Linked DNA regions of Homo sapiens: regions 1, 2, 3 and 4 are each linked to region 5. Evidence: promoter capture Hi-C in human tissues and cell types (Jung and others, 2019). All regions are on one chromosome and are shown on one strand. Each heading gives the region's core, a stretch centred on a gene start or on the middle of the fragment in contact. The rest is flanking DNA. Distances are from core to core; before and after follow the strand shown.

What was found. Contacts are between HindIII fragments. The study calls those that stand out against the background at their distance.
Region 1: a contact is called between a fragment that was not itself captured here and the fragment with the promoter of COL18A1 in region 5, in 2 of the 25 tissues and cell types used here (dorsolateral prefrontal cortex and spleen).
Region 2: a fragment that was not itself captured here is called in contact with the fragment with the promoter of COL18A1 in region 5 in 3 of the 25 tissues and cell types used here (dorsolateral prefrontal cortex, lymphoblastoid cells and spleen).
Region 3: the fragment with the promoter of ADARB1 here is called in contact with the fragment with the promoter of COL18A1 in region 5 in 4 of the 25 tissues and cell types used here (bladder, mesendoderm cells, neural progenitor cells and 1 more).
Region 4: a fragment that was not itself captured here is called in contact with the fragment with the promoter of COL18A1 in region 5 in 1 of the 25 tissues and cell types used here (spleen).

Annotation. Positions count from the first base shown.
Region 1 is chr21:45,117,346-45,120,045 of GRCh38, forward strand. The region is part of intron 1 of ADARB1 (adenosine deaminase RNA specific B1); the gene reads left to right. Among named protein-coding and RNA genes, the nearest start is that of ADARB1, 44 kb to the left of the region's middle. The HindIII fragment of the contact is 3,865 bases long and covers 1-2,700 here.
Region 2 is chr21:45,842,862-45,845,561 of GRCh38, forward strand. The region is part of intron 4 of PCBP3 (poly(rC) binding protein 3); the gene reads left to right. Among named protein-coding and RNA genes, the nearest start is that of PCBP3-AS1, 7.8 kb to the left of the region's middle. The HindIII fragment of the contact is 8,875 bases long and covers 1-2,700 here.
Region 3 is chr21:45,073,330-45,076,029 of GRCh38, forward strand. ADARB1 (adenosine deaminase RNA specific B1) reads left to right here and starts at 1,251. Exons shown (of 11, transcript NM_001112.4): 1 at 1,251-1,464. It overlaps LOC105372836 (a long non-coding RNA gene), which reads right to left and starts at 412. Exons shown (of 5, transcript XR_937796.3): 1 at 144-412. RefSeq lists silencers at 895-984, 1,005-1,204. The HindIII fragment of the contact is 7,799 bases long and covers 1-2,700 here.
Region 4 is chr21:45,875,041-45,877,740 of GRCh38, forward strand. The region is part of intron 5 of PCBP3 (poly(rC) binding protein 3); the gene reads left to right. Among named protein-coding and RNA genes, the nearest start is that of PCBP3-AS1, 40 kb to the left of the region's middle. The HindIII fragment of the contact is 8,021 bases long and covers 1-2,700 here.
Region 5 is chr21:45,403,889-45,406,588 of GRCh38, forward strand. It overlaps COL18A1 (collagen type XVIII alpha 1 chain), which reads left to right and starts at 1,277. Exons shown (of 42, transcript NM_001379500.1): 1 at 1,277-1,353; 2 at 1,491-1,585. The coding sequence starts at 1,343. It overlaps BNAT1 (breast cancer associated ESR1 regulating natural antisense transcript 1), which reads right to left and starts at 2,474. Exons shown (of 2, transcript NR_183526.1): 1 at 2,279-2,474; 2 at 1-608. RefSeq lists an enhancer at 432-1,132. The HindIII fragment of the contact is 38,297 bases long and covers 1-2,700 here.

The DNA.
Region 1 (2,700 bases), core at 59-2,558, 290 kb before region 5:
AGGAAAAATATGGAAGGGTACGTACCCACTAGTTTGTGTCAGCACTGGATTCTGGCATATATAATAGATGAGGAGTTTCTGTTATGTATATGGGATTTCTGAGATACACAGGGGTTTTCTGTGCACATCTCTCTATAACGCAGCTGTCCCGTCACATCCTGCATGTCAGTACAGGTAGTGCCGTTCTCTTCGTAGGACTGTGACACTTTATCTTTGTTCTTTCACAGTTAAAAAAAAAAAAGCTTCTTTAAAATTCTGACTTTATATAACTAACGCAATGCTCATGCTACTTCACTTGTTACAAGAACATATTATTCTGTCCTATAGATGTACTGCAGTTATTTAATGGATCAGCTATTGATAAGGGGGCCCTTTTAATGTAACTATTTTAAAAAATGGAAGTAATACCAGCACATGGTAAAAAACACATTGCAGCTCATGAATGGGTATAAATTAAGTTGGAGATTTCCTCTTTCTCCCTCCCCACCCCATGCCCCGTTTCCAGAGGTAAACAATGTACAGTTTGTGTTTTCTTCTCTTAAGTTCTTCTTGTAGTCACCATTATAGCTTTAACTTTTCTGTTTGTGAGTTCATGTGGAAGTCAACAGTGCCTTCACACTCTGAGTTTTGATGAGATTTATATTGACAAGGCTTAAAACATTTGTAGTGTTTCCCATCTATCATTAGGCTCCCTGTGCTTTTCCTGCAAGTGTAGTCTAAACATTTTAATATAAGAAAAGTAACATTTATAGTATTATGATAGTATATTTTGCCATAGAACCAAGTGGTATGAAATGTAATTCTGCCTCACCAAACCTTTGCCAATAAAAGGAGAATATTCAGATGGAACTCCCAGTTTCTCTTTAGGTGTCCGCTGTTTCTAGCTGCCTCAGTTGCCATGGTTTCTCCTATCCCATGGTGTTGGTTTCTTGGATTCTATTTTTGTTTTGCTGGAGCACCTCCTTAATCCACTTCCTTATAGAATGGATGGCTGACAGACTTCTTAATTCACTTCCTTATAGAATGGATGGCTGACAGACTTCTTAATTCACTTCCTTATAGAATGGATGGCTGACAGACTTCTTGGGTTTTTGCACGTAATGTTCAAACATGCAATTACTTTGTTCTCATACTTATTGATAATTTGGTAGGGTCTAGAATTCTAGGATCGTATAATTTTCCTTTTGAAATCAGAAAATATTCTCTATTATTTTCCAGAGTCTAGTGTTGGTAATGAGAAGTTGGATATCCGTTTGATCCTTGTTCTACTGCAGGTAAACATCTTCTACTCTCTCCTTCTCTCCCTCCCTGGGCTTCATGTCCTGACGGTTTGATTTTTCGTTACCCTAAACCCGGATCTGCTTCTCTTCCAGCCCGCGTGCCCATATTGGGATCACCCCTTAGAAAACCTCAGGCTTTCTTTGGAGAGCGATTCTCAGGTTTCAGCCCAGGAATAAAAGCGTTCCCTATGGCTCCTGCTTCTTGGGAAGACCCCTCACCTCTGTTGTCTTGCTCTGCAGTTTCCTCTGCTCTCTCGCATCAACCTGCTTTCGTCTGCCTTATGCCCTAAAAGCCCTGGCAGGCTTTCTTGTGTTCTGCTAAATCCCTCTGTAAATTTTTAGCACCGTGCACTATTATGGTTCATTCACCACCAAAAAGTACCTTTTCTGACATTTTAACAGAGCTCTGGGAAGAATGGAGAGAAGATATGGTGTACTTTATCACCATTTTTAATTAAAAGCCCTTTTAATTAATTAATTTAGAGGCAGGGTCTCGCTCTGTCACCCAGGGTGAAGTGCAGTAGTGTGATCGTGGCTCACTGCAGCCTCCACCTTCTGGGCTCAAGCAATACTCCTGTTATCAGCCTCTTGAGTAGCTTGGACCACAGTCACGTGCCACATTGACTGATTAATTTTTAAATTTTTTGTAGAGGTGGGGTCTTGCCGTGTTGCCCAGACTGGTCTCGAACTCCTAGGCTCAAGCCATCCTCCCACCTTGGCCTCCCAAAGTGCTGAGCACACCACTGTGCCTAGCCTAAAAGCCTTTTTAGATCACTCTCAGTGGCAAAATTAGTGCCTTGGTCACCTTTACCAGTAGCTGTTCTTGCTCTCCAGTGGAAATATCACTCAACATTATCAAAGAATCGGGATGAAATTAAATGAACCAGTTTAGGTACTTTTGATACAGAAGTTCTTATGAGACGTGTTGTTCTTTACTATGTAAGAGTGTGGCCATAAACTTAAAAATAGCTGGGTAACTTTGTTACACTTGCCTTGATGGTGTGTTGCAAGTTAGTTAAATTTCATATACTCTTAATCAGCACATCACCAACAAATAAAATGTTACTGCTGCATCAGAATTTAGAGGAGGTTCTATACATCTGTTTCGAAATAAAGACGGAGATGACTTAGGGTACTTATAAGTTGTTGAAAAATCATGGCTCCTGAAACTATGAATTGTCATCGTGGTATATACCCAGACAGCCCACATTAAACTGCTGTGAACATGAGAAAATGGACATCGAAATGATAAAAGCAAGAGTGTTGGTAATTGAAATCCATTATAAATAAAGCTGTCATTGGTAACGCACGAAATGCTGTTTCTGAGGATGAGGACTTTGTGGCCCCCACGTGGGCGCATTACCAAGCTTTGCAGCTCTGCACAGGAGCCTCCCTTCTTGATACTGAACTAGACCTCTAT
Region 2 (2,700 bases), core at 66-2,565, 440 kb after region 5:
GTCCTGTCCTGTGCATGGAGCAGGGCAGGTATTCTCAGATGCTTTCTGACCTAATAGGTTCCTCCTTTCCCATCCCTTTCCCTAGAGAGAATTTTCTTGAGACTGTTTTTTTCCAGTGTGTATCCTTTGGCATTTTTCAGTTGCTTTTCCAGTGCCCTGTCTGAAATATAGAGGAGGAAGCACAAACAAAACGAACAAACAAATAAGAAACCCAAAGAATAGCGAACTCACCGCTGTGTCATTCTCCAAATCCCAAGGGCCCAGCCAGTCCCCCTTCTTCCCTCCAGCTTTCAGGGTTCTCTTCTGTTTGTTCCACATGTAATGTCCAGAGTTGTTGGCTGTGCTCAGCAGGAAGAATAGGGAGAGAGGTGTCTATTCCATCCTGTCCAGAACCAGAAGGCATGGCTTCCTTTACGTGACTACTATCCCCTGTGCCTTCGCAGTTGTTTTTCTTGATTAATCTCATCAGAGGGTTGTATATTATTTAGACTTTAAGAACCAAATTTTATATTTACTGATCTTCTCAGTTGCCTTTGTTTCTTTGCTTAACTTCTGAACTTTTCTTTATTATTACCTTTCCACTTTCTGTGGATACTTTCTGTTCTTTTTCTAACTTTTTAAATGGGATTCGTGACTCACTAATTTTGTGTTTCTTTACTCCTTTTAAAAGCTATAAACTTTACTGTGAGTTCTGTTGCAGCTGTTTGCTACAAATTTTGGCATGCAATAATTTTATTATTGTTGAGGTCTGTTTTCTGATCTCATCTATTTCTTATCTGGAAACATTTAAAAAGTGTTTTGTCCAAGGGAATTGTAAAGTTATCTTTTGCTAATGATATTTAATTGCCTACTGAGTAGGAGATATGTTCTGTGGACTCCATGTTTTCAACATTTGTTGAAACCTGCAATATGAACTAAAACGTTATCAATTTTTGTTTTGTTCTCTGAGAGCCTTAGGAGAATGTGTTACCTCTGCTTGTCAGGTACAGGGTTTTATATACACACAGACACACATACGCACTATCATGTTGTTTGTGCTGTTAATATATTCTGCATCTTTATTACTTTTGTGGGGTATACTTGTGTGAACTGTAAAGGAGAGAGGTATGTTGGCATCTCCCACCAGTTGGGCGATTTGGGGCCTGTGACCTCTGACCTCACTGCTCCTTCTTGTAGCATTCTTCCTCCATTAATGCTCGTCTCTCTCCTTGACCTTCTTTCAGTCTTTCTTCTCAGTGTTTCTACCCAAAATTGCAGGCCCCAGCTCCAGCAGTCTGGTTGCGGACAAGGCCGTGCTTGTTTTTCATTGGGCTGGTCTGTCCAGCTCCAAGGCTGCCCTTTGAGCCGGACGATTGACCCACTGCATTAGGAAATGCTTTGCCGTCTTGGTGAGAGCCCCACTTTAGGGAGGTCTTGCACACTGCTGCATGGAGCATAGACACGTTGGGTGGGAGGTGCCCCAGCACCTAAGGACTCTTATGATTGGGTGGCAGGGGTGGGTGGTGCTGCCCTGCCCTCCAGAGCCCTTCACATGGTCCAGATGTCACCCAGCGCAAGGTGAGGGAGCCCTGGGGTCACATTCTCCACCCTCCCTCCAGCATTGTTGCAGCCGCAGGACACCTGCCAGGGTAGAATTCAGCGTGGCTGGAGGATTTTGTGTGGCAGAAGTAATGGAGATGGTAGGCAGGCTGGTCTCCCCGCTCCTCTGTGAGCACTGTGTGTTGGTGCTCCCTGCCAATGGTGCTCCCCGCGGCATGGTTCCACGCGCACCACAAGGGCAGCGTGGCTTCCTCATCTTAGATGTGACAGAATGGAGATAGTTCTGGGTGTTAGCCCACAAAAGTGGCAACGTTAGGGTCCAAACTCTGGTACATATGAAACCATGGTTCTTCTTTCTTCCTCTCCAGGCAGATTCATAAGAAGAAGACTGGGTCTGAGTTTATATACATATATATAAAGTTATATATAAACTTCATATACGTATATAAAGTTATAACTTTATATACGTATATGAAGTTTATATACGTATATAAAGTTTATATATATGCTTTATTTATATATATAGTTTACATATATATATGCTTTATTTAAGGTTGAACAAAATTTTGCATTCATCAGAAGCTTCCTTTTATGAATTCTTAGACTTTTTTACTGGGTACCCCAGAGATTTAAGGTATCAGCTTGAATATCTTCTAAACTGTTCTCCCTAAAAGGACCATACCTGGATTCTCAAGGAGTCCACCTCCGGAGGGGTCACTGACAGTTCTGCTCTCTTATGCCTTTTGTTCATCTTAACCAGCCTTGGTTAGCAAGGGGCACCTGCCACCAGATGATCTCTTACCAAGTCATGGTTTCCTGTCTGAAGCGGTTTCCCTGATGCTGAGAGGCATGAGGAGAATGTTACAGAGAGACAGCATGCTGCCTTGTGATTGTCTGAGGTTTGAAACCTTCTGGTGAAGCTGAAACCATTTCTTAAGAGCCTGGCTAATGCTGTGAGCTGCTTAAGCACCCGTGTGCACATGTGTGTAAGTGTGTGCCTTTGCCATGTGTATGCATGTGAGCTGCTTAAGCACCTGTGTCCACACGTGTGAGTGTGTGCCTTCACCTGTGTATGTGTGTGTGTGAGCTGCTTAAGCACCCGCGTGTACACGTTTGTGAGTGTGTGCCTTTGCTGTGTGTATGCATGTGTGTGAGCTGCTT
Region 3 (2,700 bases), core at 1-2,500, 330 kb before region 5:
TCCCCACTTTACAAGGGAGGAAAGAGGCCGAGGGCAGAGTGGGCCGCCTGAGGTTTGGAGGCCAGGGCTAGTACAACCTCAATTTGACCCTGGAACCTGCCGCTTCCCCCACCCAGGTGCGGGACCCACCCGCTTGTCCACACCTGGCTCTGCCCACCGCCCCCGGCTGCTCCTCTGGGCTCAGGTCGCCGCGGTCAGGAGCTGCCAAGTTTGCCTATCAAACTTTATCTTCGTGCAGAGAACTGCAGCCTGGAGCTGGTTATTCCGGTCAGTGAAAACGTTGCATTTCTACATATGCTTATCATCATCTGTGTAAACATTTCTTGGTATAACTGTGGAACAGTCAGTAAATATAGATAAATCGAAGAGTAGGTCTATTGCATATGCTATAAAAAAATGCTTTTACTATCAACCTAAAACAAACAAACAAACAAAAAAAATCAAACAAAACCACCATCACCTAAACGTTGGTAACTGGAGCAGCTGCTAGTGTCAGTGCGGACTAAACAGGAGACGGCGGGAACCGTGTCCAGCCAGGGTCCTGGGCCGCGACCTGGTTCTCCCGGAGTCTACAGTGAGGATGACGGGCGGGGAGAGGGGGCCGGCGGGACCCGCGTGTCCCAGGCAACTCCGGGAGAGGGAGAAGCAGGGGTGGCTCGGCGGGGGCTCGGCGGGGGCTCGGCGGGGGCTCGGCGGGGGCTCGGCGGGGGCTCGGCGGGGGCTCGGCGGGGGCAGCGCCCGCTGCAGGGAGGAGCGCGGGGGCCCGGGAGCCTGGGCAGCACCGCGAGACGCCACCTCCGCAAAACGCAAACGCCAATCGCCGGGCGCCTGCGGTCCCAGCTACCAGGGAGGCTGAGGCGGCAGGATCGCGTGAGCTCGGAGGTCCACCGCGCTCCAGTCTGGGCGACAGTGAGACCCCGTCCCCAAAACGAAGGCGGGCAGAGTCTCCTCAGCCGCGCTCGGGCGGGCGGCGCCGCGACGCCAGGCCGGTCCCGCGCTCTCGCCCCACGCTCCGGAGCCGCCCAGCCGCGGTCTCTCAGCTCCGGCCGCGCTCCAGCCCCAACGGCCCCGCGCCCGTCCGCCGCAGGTGGTCGTGAGGGAGGTGCCACAGCTCCGGCTGCCCACGACAGACACGGGCGCCCCAGCGCGCGCACGTCCGGCGTCGCTGCGCCGCCCCCGCCCCCTCGGCGTGCGCGCGCCCGGCGGGCCGGCGGGGGCGGGGAGGGGGCGGAGCCGCCGGCGGCGGGGCTGAGGCGCTGAGGCGGCCGTGGCGGCGGCGGCGGCGGCGGCGGCAGCGGCGGCCAAGCGGCCAGGTTGGCGGCCGGGGCTCCGGGCCGCGCGAGGCCACGGCCACGCCGCGCCGCTGCGCACAACCAACGAGGCAGAGCGCCGCCCGGCGCGAGACTGCGGCCGAAGCGTGGGGCGCGCGTGCGGAGGACCAGGCGCGGCGCGGCTGCGGCTGAGGTGAGGGCGGCGCGGGGCCGCGGCGGCTCGGGCGGGCGCGGGCTCCGGACCCCGCGGTGGCGGCGTTTATGTAAGCGCCGGGCAGGGACTGGTGGTGGGGCCGGAGCTGCGGGCCGTCCCGGGAGCGGAGGGCGCCCGCGGAGAAGCGAGGGTGCCGCGGCACCGCCTCGCACCCACCCTCCTGGGTCGCCCGTCTGCTCCGGCGCTCGGCTCCCGGAGGAAGCTGCGCCCGGGCGGCCCCGCGTCCCCTCCCGAGGGCGCCGAGTCCGCGTGGGATGCGCCGCGCTGCGCCGCGGGGAGGGCAGGTGCGCCGGGACGAGGCTGCGCCCTGGGGACCGAGACTGCGTTTTGGGGAGGGGACGGTGTGCCCTGGAGATCGGAGGCTGCGCTGGGGACGAGGCTGCGCCCGGGGACCAGAGGCTGCCCCGGGTACAAGGTTGCGCCGGGGAACGGGAGGCTGCGTTGGCAACAAGGCTGCGCCTGGGGACGGTAGGCTATGTCCCTGGGGAGACGCTCCGCCCGGCATGGGACGCTGCGCCGGGGGACGGCAGGCTGCGCCCGGGATGAGGCTGGGCCCGGGCAGGGGAGGCTGCCTTGGGAGGGGACGCTGTGCCACGGGAGTGGAGACTGCGTTGGGGACGAGTCTGCGCCCTGGACGGTCCTGCGTGTCCTTCCGAGGGCGCAGTGTCCGCGCGGGATGCTCTGCGCCGCGGGCGGCCCGGGCCAGGGAAGTTCCTGCGGGTGCCGGGCGTCTGCAGCGATCGGGAGCAATCTGGGGCAGTTGGGGGCCCGAGGTGACTTTTGACGTGTTCACATCAGAAGGAAAATTATTGCGTGGTGGATGGGTGCGAGGGAAGGTGTCAGATTGGGCTGTGGACGCTGAAACGTGTTGGAGTCCCGATTTACACGCTGGAAAACCTAACCTAAAACGTGTTCCTGTCCAGGTTTCTATGTCGGAGATCTGCACCGTGGTGTTTAGTTCCCAGTTAATATTTTTGGTCAGCAGGTTTGGGCTGTTACTTCTGATACAGGCATTTTACTTCCTTCTTACTAACCATTATTGCATTCCGTTCTCGAAGTATAACGAAAAGTGGCATGATATCAAACTTGTTTCTTTAACGTTTAACTCCATAATTAAGATGATAGAACCGTAGTTTTTTTAATTGAGAATACAAATATGTATTTAATCCTCTTTGTTTCCTCTTAAATTTTGCCGTATGTTTTATTGCTTCGAAA
Region 4 (2,700 bases), core at 115-2,614, 470 kb after region 5:
CAAAGCCAGTCACTGAGCCCGAGCAGCGCGGTCGCCCCTGACGCGGCACCTTCCTTCCAGGCTCCTACCTGGCTCAGGGCGTCCAGCGGCAGCCAGACAGGCTGGGGGCCCCTCCATGTTGCGCGCTCCGGCTGACTCACCGGGGCTGGGGGCCCTTCCACGCGGCGCGCTCCAGCTGACTCACCGGGCCTGGGGGCCCCTCCGTGCTGCGCGCTCCGGCTGACTCACTGGGGCTGGGGGCCCCTCCGTGCTGCGTGCTGCGGCTGACTCTCTGCTGCACATGTGCTGGCAGCTGTTCCAGGTTGCCACATCCTGGGATTATCTTTTCCAGTAAACTGTGGGGTCAGCAGGCCCAGTACTCGCCTTGCTGCTGCTTTTCACCCCCTGCACCATGGGGATGCATTGGGTCAAGTCACACAACGTCAGAAAACTCAAATTCGATTAAAAACTCAGGTCTGCTACTGGGCTCCTGGGAAAGTGCAGAGTCAGTTGGGGCCACTCTGGCAGGCTGCAGTGCCTCTGCTTCCCCCTGGCTCAGCCTGCCCACACCAGCTTCCCCCAGGGGTCTTGGGACATCTACCAGCAATGGCCAGGGTGACGTCCCTCCCTGTCCAGGGCGAGAGCAGGACAGATACTGTCTCTGATGCCCTCCCAGTGAGCTGGGAAGTACCGCTCATTCGCAGCCTCTCCTCCTCATGCCCACTGACCCTGAGGCTACAGGGAGGTTGACCTTTGCTTCCTTCCAAGAGGGTTAAACTTCTACTGTTCACTTCTGGATCTTTCACCTATATAGGACACACATTTGAGGGCGAGGTGGGATCCGATGTTGATTTTCGGCTGTCTGGATCCCCCACTGCTCCAGCCCACAGCCAATTTCTCCACCAGACTGTGAGCCACTTGCAGACAATGGCTGTGCCCATGGCCCCGCATCCCCGGTGCCGTGTGGGAACTGAGGAAAGGTGTGGGGTGAGGAATGTTCCCGCTGGACCCTTTTTCATGGGCCAGTAGGATGTCCCTGCTGCGTTCAGCTTCCCACTAAGACTAGAGGGCCCGTGGAGCCTGAGATGTTGTGTGCAGCACCAGGGCACCGATGGAGCGGTCAGGGGCCAGAACCTGCCCTTAGGCAGGCGAGTCCACGTGCATCCATCACAGCCAGGACAGTGTCAGAGCCCAGACTTGACTCAGCTCTCAGGGTGGCCTACCCTGTCTCTCATCAGAGATATTACGAATCCCGAAATGAGCATTTGAAAGAATTGGAACATTTGTAGGAGGCACACTCTTACGTGGTTCCCAAAGGTGGGACTAAGGAACACTGGCACCATGAGGGAGCCTGGCTATGGTCAGGAAAATTCAGCATCTTCCAGACATGAGACCAGTGTGGCTGGGCCGCTGGAGCAGGGGAAGGTGAGCGGTCACTGTTCCCCACTGGCACCTTTGTCTGCCTTGACGCTGAGTAGCAGGGGAGCAGGCTGTTCAGAATGCTCGCCGAGGCCAGGCTGTGTAAGCCCTGGATGGCCTCCGAATGCCGCCTGTGACAGGCAGGAGCATGAAATTCCAGAAGCCTCCCCTGCCCTGGGTAGCCTCAGGGACATGAAGTGCATGTGAGGCTCTCAAGGAGAATGTGGCAGCTAATCTGCCCTGTCATTTCCGCCGTCCTGGCCTCGTGCAGCCTGATGCAGGCACTGAGCTGTTAAACAGGATAAATCAAGTAGGGGCTGCTGCCACCCACCCCGCACTGTGTTCCCTCCCACAGTCACATCCCCCAGACAGCTGAGGCCGTGAGTGCAGCCCTGGACAGAGCACAGCTAACGGGGGTATGGCCAGAGCCGCTGGCTGCGACAGCGCTCGCTGCGGCTGCGAGGACCCCAGATGGCGCTTTGCTGGCAAGGCTTCTCCCGCCTTCTCGGGGCAAGCAGTGGCACACAGGAGAGAGCTCAAGGCGCCTGCTGCCAGCCGCACTCACAGCTGTGTGACCGCCCTTCTACACTCCAAGGCATCTCTATGTTAATATCCAAACCTATTCATCCATCCCCCAGCAAACAAGCCTTACAACTTGGGCCTCACATGACACTTTCAAACGTGGGTCTCTTCCTTTCGGGTCTGACGGGATGTCATTCACTGTTATTTTTGGCATGAAAATAGATGATGGATTACCTCTCTGGTGGTCGGGAACCTAGGCCTGGAGCCAGCTGGTCACAGTTCAGGGTCATCGCACTGTGTCACCTCGTGTAAAACGGAGGAAGAGCTCGCCCTACTGTGTTAGGACAGCCTGGATTTATATATGGAAAAACATGGGGCTGTGGCCCTGTGTGGCCGCTGTTTCATTACACATCACTTCTTACTAGGGCAGTATTCATTTTACTAGCATTCTGTTGATTTGAATATTTTTTTAAAAAAAGAGTAACTGGCAAATTTATCAGAATTTATAGTGGTACCAGTTTTAAACAGATTTTGCCAATTTAATCAATATAAAGATGAAATGGCCAGGTGCAATGGCTCACGCCTGTAATCCCAACACTTTGGGAGGCCGAAGCAGCCAAATCACCTGAGGTCAGGAGTTTGAGACCCGCCTGGCCAACGTGATGAAACCCCATCTCTACTAAAAATACAAAAAATTAGCCGGGTGTGATGGTGGCACGCCTGTAGTCCCAGCCACTCAGGAGGCTGAGGCGGAGGAATTGCTTGAACCTGGGAGGTGGA
Region 5 (2,700 bases), core at 27-2,526:
AGCACTCAGGGAAGGACTCCAGGTTTGAAGGCAGATGCTGGTCGGGACCCGACCAGGTGGCTGGGCGGGAAGAGGTGAGATCGGGCAGGATTGGGCCTGGGAAGGCTGAGGCAGGCAGGGATGATGCCAGCAGAGGAGAATCCCAAGCAGGCCCCGCGGCTGCGGCTGGAGAGCTCCAGGGGCGGAGAGGAGGTGGGAGGCAGCAGTCAGGTTGGGAGGACCCTGGCAAGCAAGCCCAGAGAGGAGGGCCGGGAGGGCCGGGCACTAGAAGTGTGAAGTCACTGCTGCCTCCTGGGGCTGCTTCAGAGGATGGGTGGGGCCACGTGTGGGGAGATCAGGGAGACTGGAGACTACGCTGTTTGGTCCAGGCATAGGAGATGAGCCCTGGCCGGGAAGGGACAGTGTGGATGGGCCAGGCGGAATCAGAGGGTTTCAGAGAAAGCCGTCAAGCCAGTGCCATGAGTTTCGCGCACACGAGGAGGGAGCAGGCTGGGGGGTGTTGCTGGTGTGAGGGCTCTCTGGTTGCAGGGAGCGGTCCGGTCGGGTGGGGGCACAGCTGCCAGGAGGAAAGCGCCCAGGGCCTGCAGGTGGGGCTCAGGATGCTGGCCCTGAAGAAATAGAAACAGGGTTTTCACCTGGGAGGGAGGAGGAGCCTGGGAACTGGGGAGGAAGAGGCTCTGCTGGGCCGCGCCCTGGGAACAGGGGGACCTGGGGACAGATCTGGCCCTCGCACGCCCCTCCTGTCTCGCGTCCGTCCCTCCGTGCAGCCGGGGCAGGACCCTGCAGGGGCCTTGCGGGCCGGAGGTGCCGGCTTCCTCCTCCGTCCCGTCCCCCCCGCGGTGACTCTATTCAAATCTCCCCCCTTCCCGCTGCCCCACCGGACTCAGGGGCTGGGGTCGTAGCCCGGCGGGCAGCGGTGTTCACCTTCCGCATAAACCTGGGCTTCCTCGCGGGGCAGCCCCCGGGCCCTGTGCTGGGTCGCAGCCTCGGGCGGTTCCCTCGGGGCGGGACGTGTCCCCGTCCGTCCTCGCCCGTCCCCGCCGCCCCCGGGTCCCGGCCCGCCCCGTCCTCGCAGCCGCAGGTCCGCTGCGGCGCCCGCCCCCCTCTCCCCTCCCCGGGCCTTGCCCTGCTCGTCGCTCCGCCCCCTGCCCGGCCCCTGCCCGGCCCCGCCCCGCGCCCGCCCCCTGCCCGCGCCCGCCCCGCCCCCTGCCCGGCCCCTGCCCGGCCCCTGCCCGCCCCCTGCCCGGCCTCCCAGCGGCGGCGGCTGCAGCGCGGCGGTCCGAGCGGGTGCACCGCGGCGGAGGAGGCAGCATCCCGCGGCGCTGACGGTCCTGGGGAGAGCATGGCGCCGAGGTGAGGCCGGGGCTGCGGGCAGGGGTTGGGGGACGCCAAGATGCGGCTGCGGGGGTCGCGGGGGTCGCGGGGCTCGGCCGGGTCCTGCGGGGGTCGCGGGGGTCCTGCGGGGTCTGACCCGTGCCTGTCCCGCGCAGGTGCCCCTGGCCATGGCCGCGGCGGCGGCGCCTCCTGGACGTGCTCGCGCCCCTGGTCCTGCTGCTCGGGGTCCGCGCGGCCTCCGCGGAGCCAGGTAAGACCCGGGCGGGACGGGAAGGTTCGCGCCGGTGCCCGCCGGCCTCGCCGCCCTGGCTGGGGTCCCCGCCCGGCTCCCTCACCCCCGCCCCGGCCGCTCTGGGTTCAGCCCCGGCCCTGCCCACGCGCGCAGGAGGCGCCGGAGCCGGACGGAGCGGGGCGGGGTGGCCGGAGTCCCGCCCATTCATTCTCCCCGCGGGGTCCGGGCCGGGAGGGGTGCGCGGTGCGAGCGGCCGGAGTCCCCGCGCGGGGACCGAACCTCCGCGGCCGGCGGGGTCGTCGGTGCCGGGAGGGCTCGGGGCGGGGCCGCGGGGTCTCGGGAGACGCGGCCTCTGTCGCCGTCACGGCCTCGTCCCCGCAGCGCCGGGTCCCGGGACTGACCGCGGGCGGAAGGCGGCGGAGCGCGGGGCGTCGTCTCCGCGTTTCCAACCTGTTGAGGCTCCTCGCCGCGGGCCGGGCCTTGTGCGCCTCTGTCCCCGCCGCCCTCAGGCCTCTGTCCCCGCGCCCGCCGTGGTGTCGGGTTGCGCGGTCCCCTTTGATGCCAACCGAGCGCCGCGCGGTCCGAGAACAATGCCCAGAAGCCGCTGCCCCGCCGGCCTCGCCGCTTCCCGTGCGCGGCAAACGGTGCGCGGGGCCCGTGGGGACCTTCCTGCCTCCAACCCCGGGACCCAGTTCCCCACCACCTGCTAACCGGGGCCTCCTGCCTCCAGCCAGCCCAGCAGAGGCCCGGGGGAGGCGGCGGGGACGCGGACCCCAGGGGAGCCCCGCCCAAAGGGCCTGGGTGCCTTGTCGCGGGTGGAATCCCACCCGGGGGTCCACGCAGCCAGCGCCTGCCTCCGACTCGACTCCACACCTGCTTGCTACAGCGGGTGAGGAAGCAGGAAAGGGGGAGGGAGGGATGTCGTCTGGATTCCTGTAATAATTTGTTTCATTGTTTCCAATCGACTTAGTCACCAGGTTAAATAGTAGCATAGACCTTTCAAAAAAGTAGCTAGCTTATAAGTAGATGTATTGAAAACACCTGCTTGTTGAGTCGTAGACAATTCCTCATTTACTGTGTGAACTCTAGGGGGTGAAACACGGGCGGAGAGCGGCTGTGAGCTCACGCGGCTC